Linked DNA regions of Homo sapiens: region 1 is linked to region 2. Evidence: promoter capture Hi-C in 16 types of primary human blood cells and fetal thymus (Javierre and others, 2016). All regions are on one chromosome and are shown on one strand. The core of a region is centred on a gene start or on the middle of the fragment in contact, and the rest is flanking DNA. Distances in the headings are between cores, read along the strand shown.

Evidence for each region. The method cuts DNA at HindIII sites, captures the fragments that hold promoters and counts their contacts. A CHiCAGO score of 5 or more calls a contact.
Region 1: a fragment that was not itself captured here is called in contact with the fragment with the promoter of EIF1B in region 2 in 13 of 17 cell types (total CD4 T cells, activated CD4 T cells, naive CD8 T cells and 10 more); the score reaches 22.2 in total CD4 T cells.

What each region holds. Positions count from the first base shown.
Region 1 is chr3:41,874,041-41,880,178 of GRCh38, forward strand. The region is part of intron 17 of ULK4 (unc-51 like kinase 4); the gene reads right to left. Among named protein-coding and RNA genes, the nearest start is that of ULK4, 85 kb to the right of the region's middle. The HindIII fragment of the contact is 3,624 bases long and covers 1,352-4,975 here.
Region 2 is chr3:40,307,563-40,313,462 of GRCh38, forward strand. EIF1B (eukaryotic translation initiation factor 1B) reads left to right here and starts at 2,145. Exons shown (of 4, transcript NM_005875.3): 1 at 2,145-2,410; 2 at 3,331-3,494; 3 at 3,908-4,009; 4 at 4,408-4,862. The coding sequence starts at 2,380. The coding sequence ends at 4,452. EIF1B-AS1 (EIF1B antisense RNA 1) reads right to left here and starts at 2,136. Exons shown (of 3, transcript NR_033965.1): 1 at 1,761-2,136. LOC124906228 (a long non-coding RNA gene) reads right to left here and starts at 1,249. Exons shown (of 2, transcript XR_007095876.1): 1 at 1-1,249. RefSeq lists an enhancer at 1,876-2,235 and silencers at 2,506-2,555, 5,076-5,370. The HindIII fragment of the contact is 2,965 bases long and covers 517-3,481 here.

The DNA of each region.
Region 1 (6,138 bases), core at 1,914-4,413, 1.6 Mb after region 2:
TATATATGTATATATAATTCATATATCTCAGAAAGTGCAACAAGTGCTATTTGTTCTTGAAAAAAGGTTATAAATTGAAAATGAAGACTATGGAAAATAAGGACAATGACAGGACTGATTATGTGTAGTTGTTCTAGTAATGAAAAGCAATACTACTCAAGCTAGGCGAGAGAGAAGAGGAAGTGGTGCAATCGTGCATCTTAATACGGAGCAAGAGCCCAAAGTGGAGCACATAATATCACAGCCTTTGAAATAGATTCATCATACACTACGTTTAGAGTTTCCAAAAGCACACAATTTTCAGGAAGAACTAAGTTAAATAATGCTTCAAATCACCATATATCCACTTTTAACATAAAATTCAATTCTATAACCAATTCAGTAGAAAGCTAAAGAACGTAGTGCCAATATTCTTAAGTCAATAATTCTTACAATATTTCACTCTTTTAAAGAACTAAATCATAAAACATGATTATCCCACCAAAAAACATGAGGACATAGAATGTAAAATAAATTTTTCAAATTAAATTAGAGGCCAGCATTATTCTAAGTGATGTAACTCAGGAATAGAAATCCAAATATCGTATGTTCCCAATTATAAGCGGGAGCTAAGCTATGAGTATGCAAAGGTATACAGAATGGTATAATGGACACTGGAGACTCACAAGTGAAGGAGGGGAGAGGGATTAAAAAGACTACATATTGAGTACAGTGTACACTACTCAGGTGACCAGTGCACTAAAATCTCAGACTTCACCATTATACAACTCATCCATGTAATCAAAAACCACTTGCATTCCAAAAGCTATTGAAATAAAAAATATATATTAAAAACATATTAATTAATTAGCAGTCAGGTGCAGTAGCTCATGCCTGTAATCCCAGCACTTTGGAAGGCTGAGGCAGGTGGATTGCTTGTCACCAGAAGTTAGAGACCAGCCTGGGAAATAATATGAGACACCATCTCTACTAAAAGTAAAAATTAAAAGATTAGTCAGGCATGGTGATGTGTACCTGTAGTCCCAGCTACTGGGGAGGCTGAAGTGGGAGATCAGTTGAGCCCAGGAGTATGAACTTTCAGTGAGCCATGATCGTGCTACTGCACTCCAACCTGGGCAACAGAGCGAGACCCTGCCTAAACAAAAATTAAATAAGATAAATTTCAAAAACAATAATGGTGAAAATAATGTTACACAGCATGATGAACTTAGTGAATTAATAATCTGTTGAGGCCAGGTGTGATAGCTCACGCTGGTAATCCCAACACTTTGGGAGGCTGAGGTTAATGGATCACTTGAGCCCAGGAGTTTAAGACCAGCCTGGCACCTGGTACACAGCAAGCATTCAATAAAGCTTGGCTAAAATGATTTTTTAAAAATTAAAAAGGCCAGCCTGGGCAACATAGGGAGACTACGTCTCTACAAAAAATAAAAAATAAAAAAATAGCTGGCCATGGTGGCATGCACCTCTAGTACTAGCTAGTTAGGAGGCTGAGGTGGGAAGATGGCTTAAGCCCAAGGTAGTGAGCTATGATTGTGCCACTGTAGTCCAGCCTGAACAACACAATGAGACTGCATCTCAAAAATAAAAATAGTAATAATCTGTTGAAAATAAAGAGAAAATGCAATGGCAATTAATGACAATTAATACAATGATTAACATTTCCTGAATGTTTTTTTTTAGAAAAATGTTAAAACAGCAGTTATAATCTATATAAGTTTTAATATTATGCTCTTATTGCATACATCACATGAGAGCTAAAGTGGCACTGCAAAGGAAAAGATGTACCTTTACAATGGAGCTCTCTGGCAGCACTACTTTAATCAAATGATCAAAGTAGGTGCAACTATTAAAACCTGACACTGCATGCTTCCTGATGAGTTCAAATATGAAGTACCCAGTATCACCTATGATATGTTCTTACCAAAAAAAAAAAAAAAAGGTTCAACCTAAATCTAATGAAGCGTCCAGACCTAACCTACAGTTTATAGGAAATGTGTGGACTAGAGGAATAAGTTAGCAATACCAAAAAAAGCAAGCAGACAAATCTGGAATGTGGAATATTCAACAGGACAAACAGCCTGGACTCTCCAAGAATCAATGTAATGTGGCAAGAAAAAATAGAGGAACAATTCTAGAAAAAAACATGAGGAAAGAGACTCCAACAGTGAATTATAGAGAGCACCAAGTTGTTTCTTATAATGATGCAAAGGTGATTTATTTTTAGGAATTCCATTAATATAATCCACCTATTAATAGAGATAGGAAGAAAAATTAAATACTCCTATCTTCTGATGCCATACCAAACTCAATAACCATTAATGTTAAAAACAAAGAGGAAACTGGTAAATACTTATTTAACATGATTTTATGCCAACACCAAGTATTCATGAGAATACAGAGCACTGAACATTCTTTCATTAGTCAAAGCATTTTAACTTATACAACCTTACTGGAAAACAGTTTAGATTACCCCCTAAAGTTGAACACACACATATCCTGTAACCTACCAATTCCATTCCTACACATATCCAACAGAGAGCTTGCGCAAGTGCATCAAAATGTGTGTGCAAGGCTTTTAATAGCCAAATACAGAAAACAATCCAAATGCCCATCACCAGTGATGTAGTATACTCATGTAATAAAAATGAACTACAGGTACAGGCAACAAGGATGAATTCCATAAACATAATATGAAATAAAAGAAGCCAGATACCAAAGTATACATATCATATGACTCAATTTAAACAAAATTCAAAAGCCGGCAAAATCATGACAGAATTGGAAGTTACGGTAACTTCCTTTGGCACAAAGGGAGAGAACAGTGATCAGGAGAGAGCACAAGAGGATCCCCGGGTATGCTGGCAATGTTCTACTTAATGTTCTGTTTCTTGACCCAGTGACAGTTTATTGGGTTTTCACACTTGGCAATAATTCATTAAGCAATACATTTATGTTTTGTATGTATTTCCAACACTTCAATAAAAAAGAATTATAATTTTCAAACCAGAAAGAAAGTACAAAGTAATCTCTAAATATCTAAAAAAAATTGAAAACATATGTAACTATATATCATATTGGTGACAAAAGTACAAAGTGAAGAATTATATAAATTGCTTTTAAAACTCAGCGTTTTGACTGTACATATCATCCAGTGGGTTATATCCCAAGGGAAAAAAAGTACTTAAAATGCACTTTGTAGTTTTGTTGTTAGTAACAATACGTGTACTATTTTTAAACTATTCTAAACTCTAAGCTAAAAAAAAAGATAATTATGTTAATGTTATTAATGGCCAAGAGTGTTTTTTTTTGAGACAGAGTCTTGCTCTGTTGCCTAGGCTGGAGCGCAGTGGTCCGATCCCAGCAGCCTCCGCCTCCTGGGTTCAAGCAATTCTCATGCCCCAGCCTCCCAAGGAGCCAGGATTACAGGCGTGCATCACTATGCTCGGCTAATTTTTGTATTTTTAGTAGAGATGGGGTTTTGCCATGTTGGCCAAGCTGGTCTCGAACGCCTGAACTCAAGTGATCCACCCACCTCAGCTCCCAAAGTGCTGGTATTACAGGCATGAGCCACCGCCCCAGCCAGGAATTTTAGCTTATGAGAAGAAAAATAAAAATTGTAAATCAAAAGGTAAAAACGAATTTTAAATCTGAATTGGAGCCAGGCGTGGTGGCTCACCGCTATAATCCCAGAACTTTGGGAGGCCAAGGTGGGTGGATCACCTGAGGTCAGGAGTTTGAGACCAGCCTGGCCAACATGGTGAAACCCCATCTCTACTAAAAATACAAAATTAGTCGGGCATGATGGTGCATGCCTGTAATCTCAGCTACTCAAGAGGCTAAGGCAGGAGAATCGCTTGAACCCGGGAGGCAGAGGTTGCGGTGAGCCGAGATCGCGCCGTCGCACTCCAGCCTGGGCAACAAGAGCAAAACTCTGTCTCAATAAAAAAATCTGAATTGGAAAAGCAGAATAAACTGTGAATTTTTCTCTTTTTAAGAAACAATAGTACCTAGATCTAACCTCTGAAAAGCTCTACCAGGAAAAAAAAAAAAAAAAAAAAACCTAGAGAACCCAGATTGAGTTCTCTAACTACATCTTCTAACAAAGTAAACAAGATTCCTTATAGAAGTGGTTTCAAAACTAGGGGTTGACTATTCCCGAAACAAGCCTATGAAAGCTCACTGCCGAGAAGCCAGCAAGCTGTCAGAGACAGGAGTAGGCTCATGTCAAAGGGAGAAAGGAGCAAACTTGAAAGAGCTCCCACTGGATGGAGATGAAACAATGTAAGCATCAAAAAGACTAATGACTGCAAAGGACTAGACGATATACATATACATATATACACCTGTAAGTTCTTAACAATATAAAATCAATCTCACTAGACACGGAGATTTCTCAGGTACCAACTCTTTATTCTGAAAACTGACCTATGAAGAGGAACAATCAAGCATTTATCCTGCCTTGCAAAACAAACTCTATTTTAAGGATAACCAAATAGTTGATCAGGGAAAGATCTTCTGTAAGAAAACTTCCAACTACAAATAGAAAGGAAATTACAGAATAAGAAAATTATCATTTTGCAACTCTAAAGGATTACTACATGTAGACAATAATCGATTGATGTTAAAACTGTTAAAAAAAAAAAAAAAAAAAAAGAGTGAGGAGTTCCTGACTCACAGATAAGGGTATGAAGAAAAAAAAAGAGTGATGGGAATATTTATAATAAGGCTGACAACATCTGAGTCTAGTGATCAACTTTAACCCCTCTAATAGAGGCATATAATGTTTAATTGTCTCACTTCCTATGAAGCAGTAGGAGAAATACAGCACCAACTGTGACAAATTCCTATTTCCCCAAGCCATCCCCCCAAAAAAAAGTACTGAATCAAGGGTCCACATCTAAGCAGCCATGCGCAAGAAAGGAAAGGCAGGTGATAAAGGACTATATTAAATAACACCAAAAGGGTGCAGTAAAGCTTCTGGTATTCCAATTTGGGCCAAGACAAGGGACAATTTGTCTGTAACAAATAAATGACACTAAAAAATAAGAGACCAGGAATTAAGAGACTTAAGGGTCACAATATCTAAACGCAATCCTGGCTCAAAGAAAAATTACAAAATGACATGTATGAAACCACCAAGAAAATCTGAACACTAACTGGGTATTAGATGATATTCAGAGACTACTGCTGAATGTATTGGGTGTGATAATGAAATCATGGTTATACATTTTTCTAATCCTTTTCTGCTAGCAAAAGATATTTACTAGTAAAATGATATCATTTTATTTAAAATACTCCAGCAAGAAAGAGAGAGGGAGAGAAAAAGGGAGAGGGGGAATGAAAGCAGGACACAAGATGAAACAAGATTAGCCAGTGTTGATTGCTGGAAGCAAATGATACTACCTCATTACTCTAGCCTCTCTACTTCTATATATGTTGAAATTTTCCATAATTTAAAAAAAAAAAATTTGAGACAGGGTCTTGCTCTGTTGCCCAAGCTGGAGTGCAATAGCATGATAATAGCCCACTACAGCCTCAACCTCCCAGGGTCATGTCTCAGCCTCCTGAGTAGCTGGGACCACAGACGTGCACCACCACACCAAACTCTATTTTTTCTAGAGACAGGGTCTCCTTATGTTGCCCAGGCTGGTCTCAAACTCCTAGGCTCAAGTTATCCTCCCACCTCAGCCTCCCAAAGTACTGGGATTACAGCCGTGAGTCACCACGCCCAGCTGATAATAAAGAAATTTAATGAATGGGTTAACCTAAAATGTCTGTTAATACTCCTTTTGGCCAGGAGTGGTGGCTCATGCCTGTAATCCCAGCACTTTGGGAGGCTGAGGCGGATGGATTATTTGAGGTCAAGAGTTCGTGATCAGCCTGGCCAACATGGTGAAACCCCATCTCTACTAAAAATACAAAATAAATTAGCTGGGCGTGGTAGTGCATGCCTGTAATCCCAGCTACTCGGGAGGCTGAGGCAGGAGAATCGTTTGAACCTGGGTGACAGAGGTTGCAGTGAGCCAAGATCACGCCACTGCAATCCAGCCTGGGCAACAGAGTGAGACTCAGTCACAAAAAAAATTCCTTTCAGTTTTAGAATTTGATGGGTCTATATTAAATTTCATAAAATAT
Region 2 (5,900 bases), core at 895-3,394:
TTCTCCTGACAGGGGTAATGACCATGAAACCCTAAGATTTCTGGAATTTTTCTTTTAATTTCTCTGTGTTTGTAGTTTTTTCTTCACTGGATCACCTTTGGCTTCTTCTGAGAAATAAAGTAATATAAAATACTCATGTACATCTACTAAGAAAGAAAGGAAACAAATAGAGATGCATTATCTAGATTACAAATTATTTAGAAATTAGAGTGTTAGAGTATTAACATAGGGCACAAAATTGAACTAATAAAATTACTTTAAAGCACACTTATTTAGATATTTTGATGCTCCTTGTTTTGGAGCCAGCTCTAAACTTTACACCTCAATTTGGGATACGAAGAGTGTTTTCCATTTGAACCAGAGCTGGAAGACCACAAATGTGGTTAGATTTCTGAGAGTTAAGAATTTGATTTTTTTTTCAGGCATTAACCTACAAAAGCCTTCATTTCCACACCTGGTGCATAGAGTAATGCTTACCTTATAAAATAGCTATGAAGATTAATAATGTTATATATAAGCTTTGTAACAGGCAAACAGTAAGTACTAAATAAATGGCACTTATCATCATTGTTAATTACAAAAGATTGTCAAATCCAGGTATTCTTAACCTGCGGTCTGCAGATCCTTGGCTCATGGATAAAACTGCAGGGGTGGAGATCCCTAAAATTGGATGGGGAAAGATTATATCTGCATTTTCATTAACCTCTAAGCAAAATTTACCATTTCTTTCCATTATGAATAAAGGCAACATCATAGTGATAGAAGGACCTGTCACTTCGCACCAACAGAAGTTACACATACTTTCATATTAAATTTCTGATGTTACGGACATCACAAAATATCTCTTACATTTATCAGCTTTTTGAAATTATAGTATTAGACCTAATCTTGCTAGATCTTATTAGTGTATTAATAAAGAAATACACGTTATTAATGTATTTTTTAAATTTCAATATAATTGGTTTCCTTTGTAATCCTATGTACTTTGTGAACTTAAAACTTAACTTCTCATTATTCTGAGAAGGGATTCAGCAGCTTCACAGGATTGCCATGGCACACACAAAAAAGTTAAGAATCCCTAAATTTTAGTCTATCTCTTTGCTTCCAGAAAGCCAACCAAGTTTGACAATTGAACACACCTGCCTGAGTGAGCCAATTCCCAAAGTCTCGGGTTTATTTTTCTGTGCGTGACCTGATAGGAAGATATTACGGTCTGGTACATGACTCCATCAATTAACCTATTTGCTGAGCTCACCTTCAGCTTATACCTGGCATCTTTCCTGAATTCTCTGTTGGGCCTTCTGAGGCACACAAAATGAGCTGACAAGCTGATTTTCTGGTATCTTCTGTTCATACACACCTGGCCCCCACTCGATGCCAGGCCCAGGATTAAGCTGGGCAGTGATTCTCAAGCCTGATCCCAGACCAGCAGGCAGGATCAGCATCACCAAGGAGCTTATGAGAATTGCAGATTTTCAGGTCACACCCTAGACTTCCTGAAACAGAAACTCTGGGGTCTATCAGTGTTTTCTCAAGCCCTCCAGAGACACACGCTTTAGTCTGAGATCCACCGTGCTAGGGAATCGGAGGTCCGTCCAATCCTGGAAAGAGAGGCTCCCATCTCCAGTATTGGTTGAGACTAACACCGCTCCTGCAACTGGGGTTGGAATTTCAATGCAGGTAGTTGCTGAGCGGGGGCCAATGAGTTGAAAGCCGGAGCAAGGGGACTTGTTTTGTTCCTGCACCCCGATTTTACTTACATTACCCGGGGCCTCGAGGGTGACTCATAGAGATTAGCCCTGAGCGTCGACCCCTCGGCGCCGCCACTGCACAGCGAGAGAAGGGGAGTCAAGAGAGACGCTTGAGTCCCTTGACTGTCCTCCCCTACGAGCTCTCTGGGAAGAGAGCCCCAGACCTGCGAACTCTGGGCCGCTCTGCGGCCGCTTGAACACTTCGCGGGTCTTCCGCCCCGCGCTAGAGGACGCACTCCGTGACGGGAATTGCGGTCTCGGCCGCCCCCGGCCTCAGGCTTTCCGGGCTCTGCTGCCTCCAGAAAACTACAAGTCCCAGGATGCTCGGCGCGGGACGGTCACGTGGGAGGGGCCGCGGGCGCGGCTAAATAGTCTCCATCGGCCATTTTGTGCGAGAAGCCGCAGCGCCGCCTCTTCTCTCGCGCCCTCGCCTCTTCCTCCGCCTCCTCCTTCGCCTCTTCCTGCCTCCTCCCGGCTTCCGCCGCCGCCACTCCAGCCTAATCCCAACCCCAGGGCGAAGCGTTTTCTTATTTATTTCCGTTTTCTCGCCACTACAGCCTCCTGACAAGGTGATCCGGGCGGGCCCCGCAGGAATTTTATCCCCTCACCGGCCTCACACTAGTATCGCATGTCCACTATCCAGAACCTCCAATCTTTCGGTAAGATCCCGTCGCCGCCGCCTCCCTCCCTTGCCCGGCGCGCATCTCGGCCTTTTGCCCGCCTGGCCACCGCCCCTAGGGGCCCCCTTTCTGCCCTTCCCGCACCCCTAGTGGGGCTTTGTCTCGGCGCCCAGAAAATGGCGACGGGGCCCCTGGCGACCCCTTCCCCGAGGACAGCGCCGGACTCCGAGCCCTCCTCTCGGAGCCCCGGCCGCGGGCCCTGCGCCACCCCCTGCCCCGTCCTTGACCCGGCTCTCGCCTCCGCTTCTGCCCCTTGAAACCTTGGCGATCCTATTTCGTGGACTCCTAGATCGGCCCTGCTACTTGCAAAGGGTATGCCGGGCCAGGGAAACCAGGGATCGGCGCCCGTTCTCTGGCAGCTCCTGGGGGCACTTAGGGAAAGATGCGGATGCAAGCCTCTGATCTGTCACTGGCCAGTGGTTCAGTCTTCTCTGCTTGCGTAGCAATTTGTTAAATTACGCCTCTTGATATATATGTAATCTACTTTTTTTTTGGCAAGGCACAGTTACGGTTAAATGATTAAGGTGGGCGTATTCGAATGTTTATGTTTTCATCAGAATGTAATCGAGATGACGCACATTTTTATAGCGGCTACAATATTAAGGTTTTCTAAATCTTTTTCTCATTAGAGGACCATATTGAACGATAACATTATTTATCTATAACAGCGTTTTTCTACAATGGACATAGCTGTTCAAATGTTTCTCTTTTTGTGAGAGTATCTTGGGGGTTTTATTAATACTCCACCCCCATCTCCATTCCTACCGGCAAAAACAGCAAAGGCACTAGAACCTTCATTGATGACTGTCTGGATTGGTAGTATAATGTATTTCTGGAAAGTACTTCTTAAAAAATATTTTTCTACTTTGGATTTTTTTTTTTTTTTTATCCATTCGCAGACCCCTTTGCTGATGCAACTAAGGGTGACGACTTACTCCCGGCAGGGACTGAGGATTACATTCATATAAGAATCCAGCAACGGAACGGCAGAAAGACACTGACTACTGTTCAGGGCATTGCAGATGATTATGACAAAAAGAAACTTGTGAAAGCTTTCAAAAAGGTAAAGGGATTAGGAAGAAAGGATTAGAGTTACTGATGCACACCTCTGAACTGGATTATGATTCACACCTTTATATCGGCGTGGATGAAAATAACTAGACCAAGAAAGTTGTTCTCATTTTTGTAATTAACATGTAAATATTTAGTTATTCTCCCAGTGTGGTCTCTCATTTTAAAAGAAGATTCGCGTTGCTTTTAAATAAATTTAAATGTGAAATATTTAGTTCTTGATGTTACACATAAAATCATTTCCTGGTTTACAAATTAATTTGGAAGGATTGTGGATTATAGGAGACAAAATCTGTTTCTCTAAATATGATCTAGCTTACTGAAATGGCTAATTCTGTTCATACGGTGAAATAAAACCTCATAGTAGTTGACTAAATTTTGTTGTATATTTATGCACTTTTCCAGAAATTTGCCTGTAATGGTACTGTGATTGAACATCCTGAATACGGAGAGGTTATTCAGCTTCAAGGTGACCAAAGAAAAAACATCTGCCAGTTTCTCTTGGAGGTGAGTGATTGGGTGCTTTATGTGTAACCTTGAGATTGCTTTTAAAATTGTATTTAAAGGCAACATGATTTGTTTTCTACTAAGTAAAAAATCATACGAATGAAGGAAATTAGGTGAAATAAAGACATGGTAGTTATTTGGAAAGCAAAGACCTTTATCTGGTTTATTTTGTCATTAGAGTATTCTGATCATTTCTTTATATACACACACAGGCTATTTCTTGGCATGTAAAGTATTCAAATACGTGTTGAATTGTTGGCTATCAGCAGTGCATGCCACAGACAACAGTGTTGCAGTAAGCTGTTGATAGTGATTCTTTTTAATTACTCTTCCATGTTTTCTTAATGAATTTTTATATTTCTCAGAGTTATTTTGCTAAATTAGATTTTATTTTACAGGTTGGCATTGTAAAGGAGGAACAGCTTAAGGTTCATGGATTCTAAAATGAACCTAAATACGTGGAGAATTTCTTGAATAGTTTTGTTCTCTAAACCCGGTTTGGCTGCCTTGTGAAATGATTCCCTGCAGTAAACGGACTTTTCATTTATTTAATCATTCAAACTTCCATTCACATCTGCATGATTACAGAAAACATGGGGTATGTAGACTAGTAACACATAAGAAAATTGCAGTAAGATGGTAACAAAACCTCATATTGTCTTTACATGTTTCCAATGGAAAATGTTTTGAGTGTTTATTGTTCAGTTTATTACGTTTCACTTGATTAAATTTTTTTGTTGTTGTATTAAACCATGTACGTTGCAGCTTAACAATAAAAAAAAATCTATGAATCTTTGTGAGCAATTATGCTCCCAAATCTAAGCAAGTAAAATACACATTTTGTCTTTCTTAATTGGAGTTCTCTCATTCTGCATATATTCCTTCTGATTAGCTTCAGCTGTTACACCCAGCGCTTAGAGGAGAACCTTATATCCAGTGCTAGAGAACCTTTGTTATTTGTAGCTTGTGTTTTTCATGTACTGATTTAAGAATAGAAGCAGGAGTAGAAATTCAGCCAGAGCCACTAGTCATGGCAAAGCAAGTAAAAGTTGTCAAAGAATTTATCAGATTGTAGTATTAAATGTTGTTAAAGAGTATGAAGTTTAACAGTATTAGAACATAGAGTTCTTTTCTGTGTTCTTATCAGTTGTTACTGAGTTGCCAACATAAGTCTATCCCTAAGTACCAGATACTGTAATAGTCTTGTGACATAAAGCATATTTAGTCACAGGCACTTCCCTGCAAGTGTAGGTTGATGGTATCACTGCCTTACAGATGGAAAACACTGGGCCTCAGGTTAATTTCCCAAGAGTGCTAGAAAGTGACAGGGTGTCAGCCCAGAGATTCCAGCCAGGAAATTTCTTTTACTACATCATGATTTTGGTATGTGTTTCACCAAAGTGAACCAGAGCCACAGATGACAATGACCAGGGGTGATAGTGGTGTAAGAAATAACCACCAGCCACGGTGTCTCATGCCTATAATCCCAGCACTTTGGGAGGCCAAGGCGGGCAGATCACTTGAGGCTGGGAGTTTGAGACCAGCCAGGCCAACATGGTGAAACTCCATGTCTACTAAAAATGCAAAAAATTAGCTGGTGTGCACCTGTAGTCCCAGCTGCTTGAGGCTGAGGCACCAGAATCTCTTGAAACTGGAAGGTGGGGGTTGCAGTGAGCCAAAGTGGCACCACTGCTCTCCAGCCTGGGCAATAGAGCAAGACTCTGTCTCTTAAAAATACATATAATTTGCAGTTCTTAATTAAGAGATTTCTGCAGCTCATCTTCTTGAGTTCCAGGCTCCTTTCTATTAAGTAGTATTTACTTGGTTGCACGGGCCACGCCACTAAAACCATTTAGCCGATGCAAAGATGCATCTGCATGGGCAAACTTTT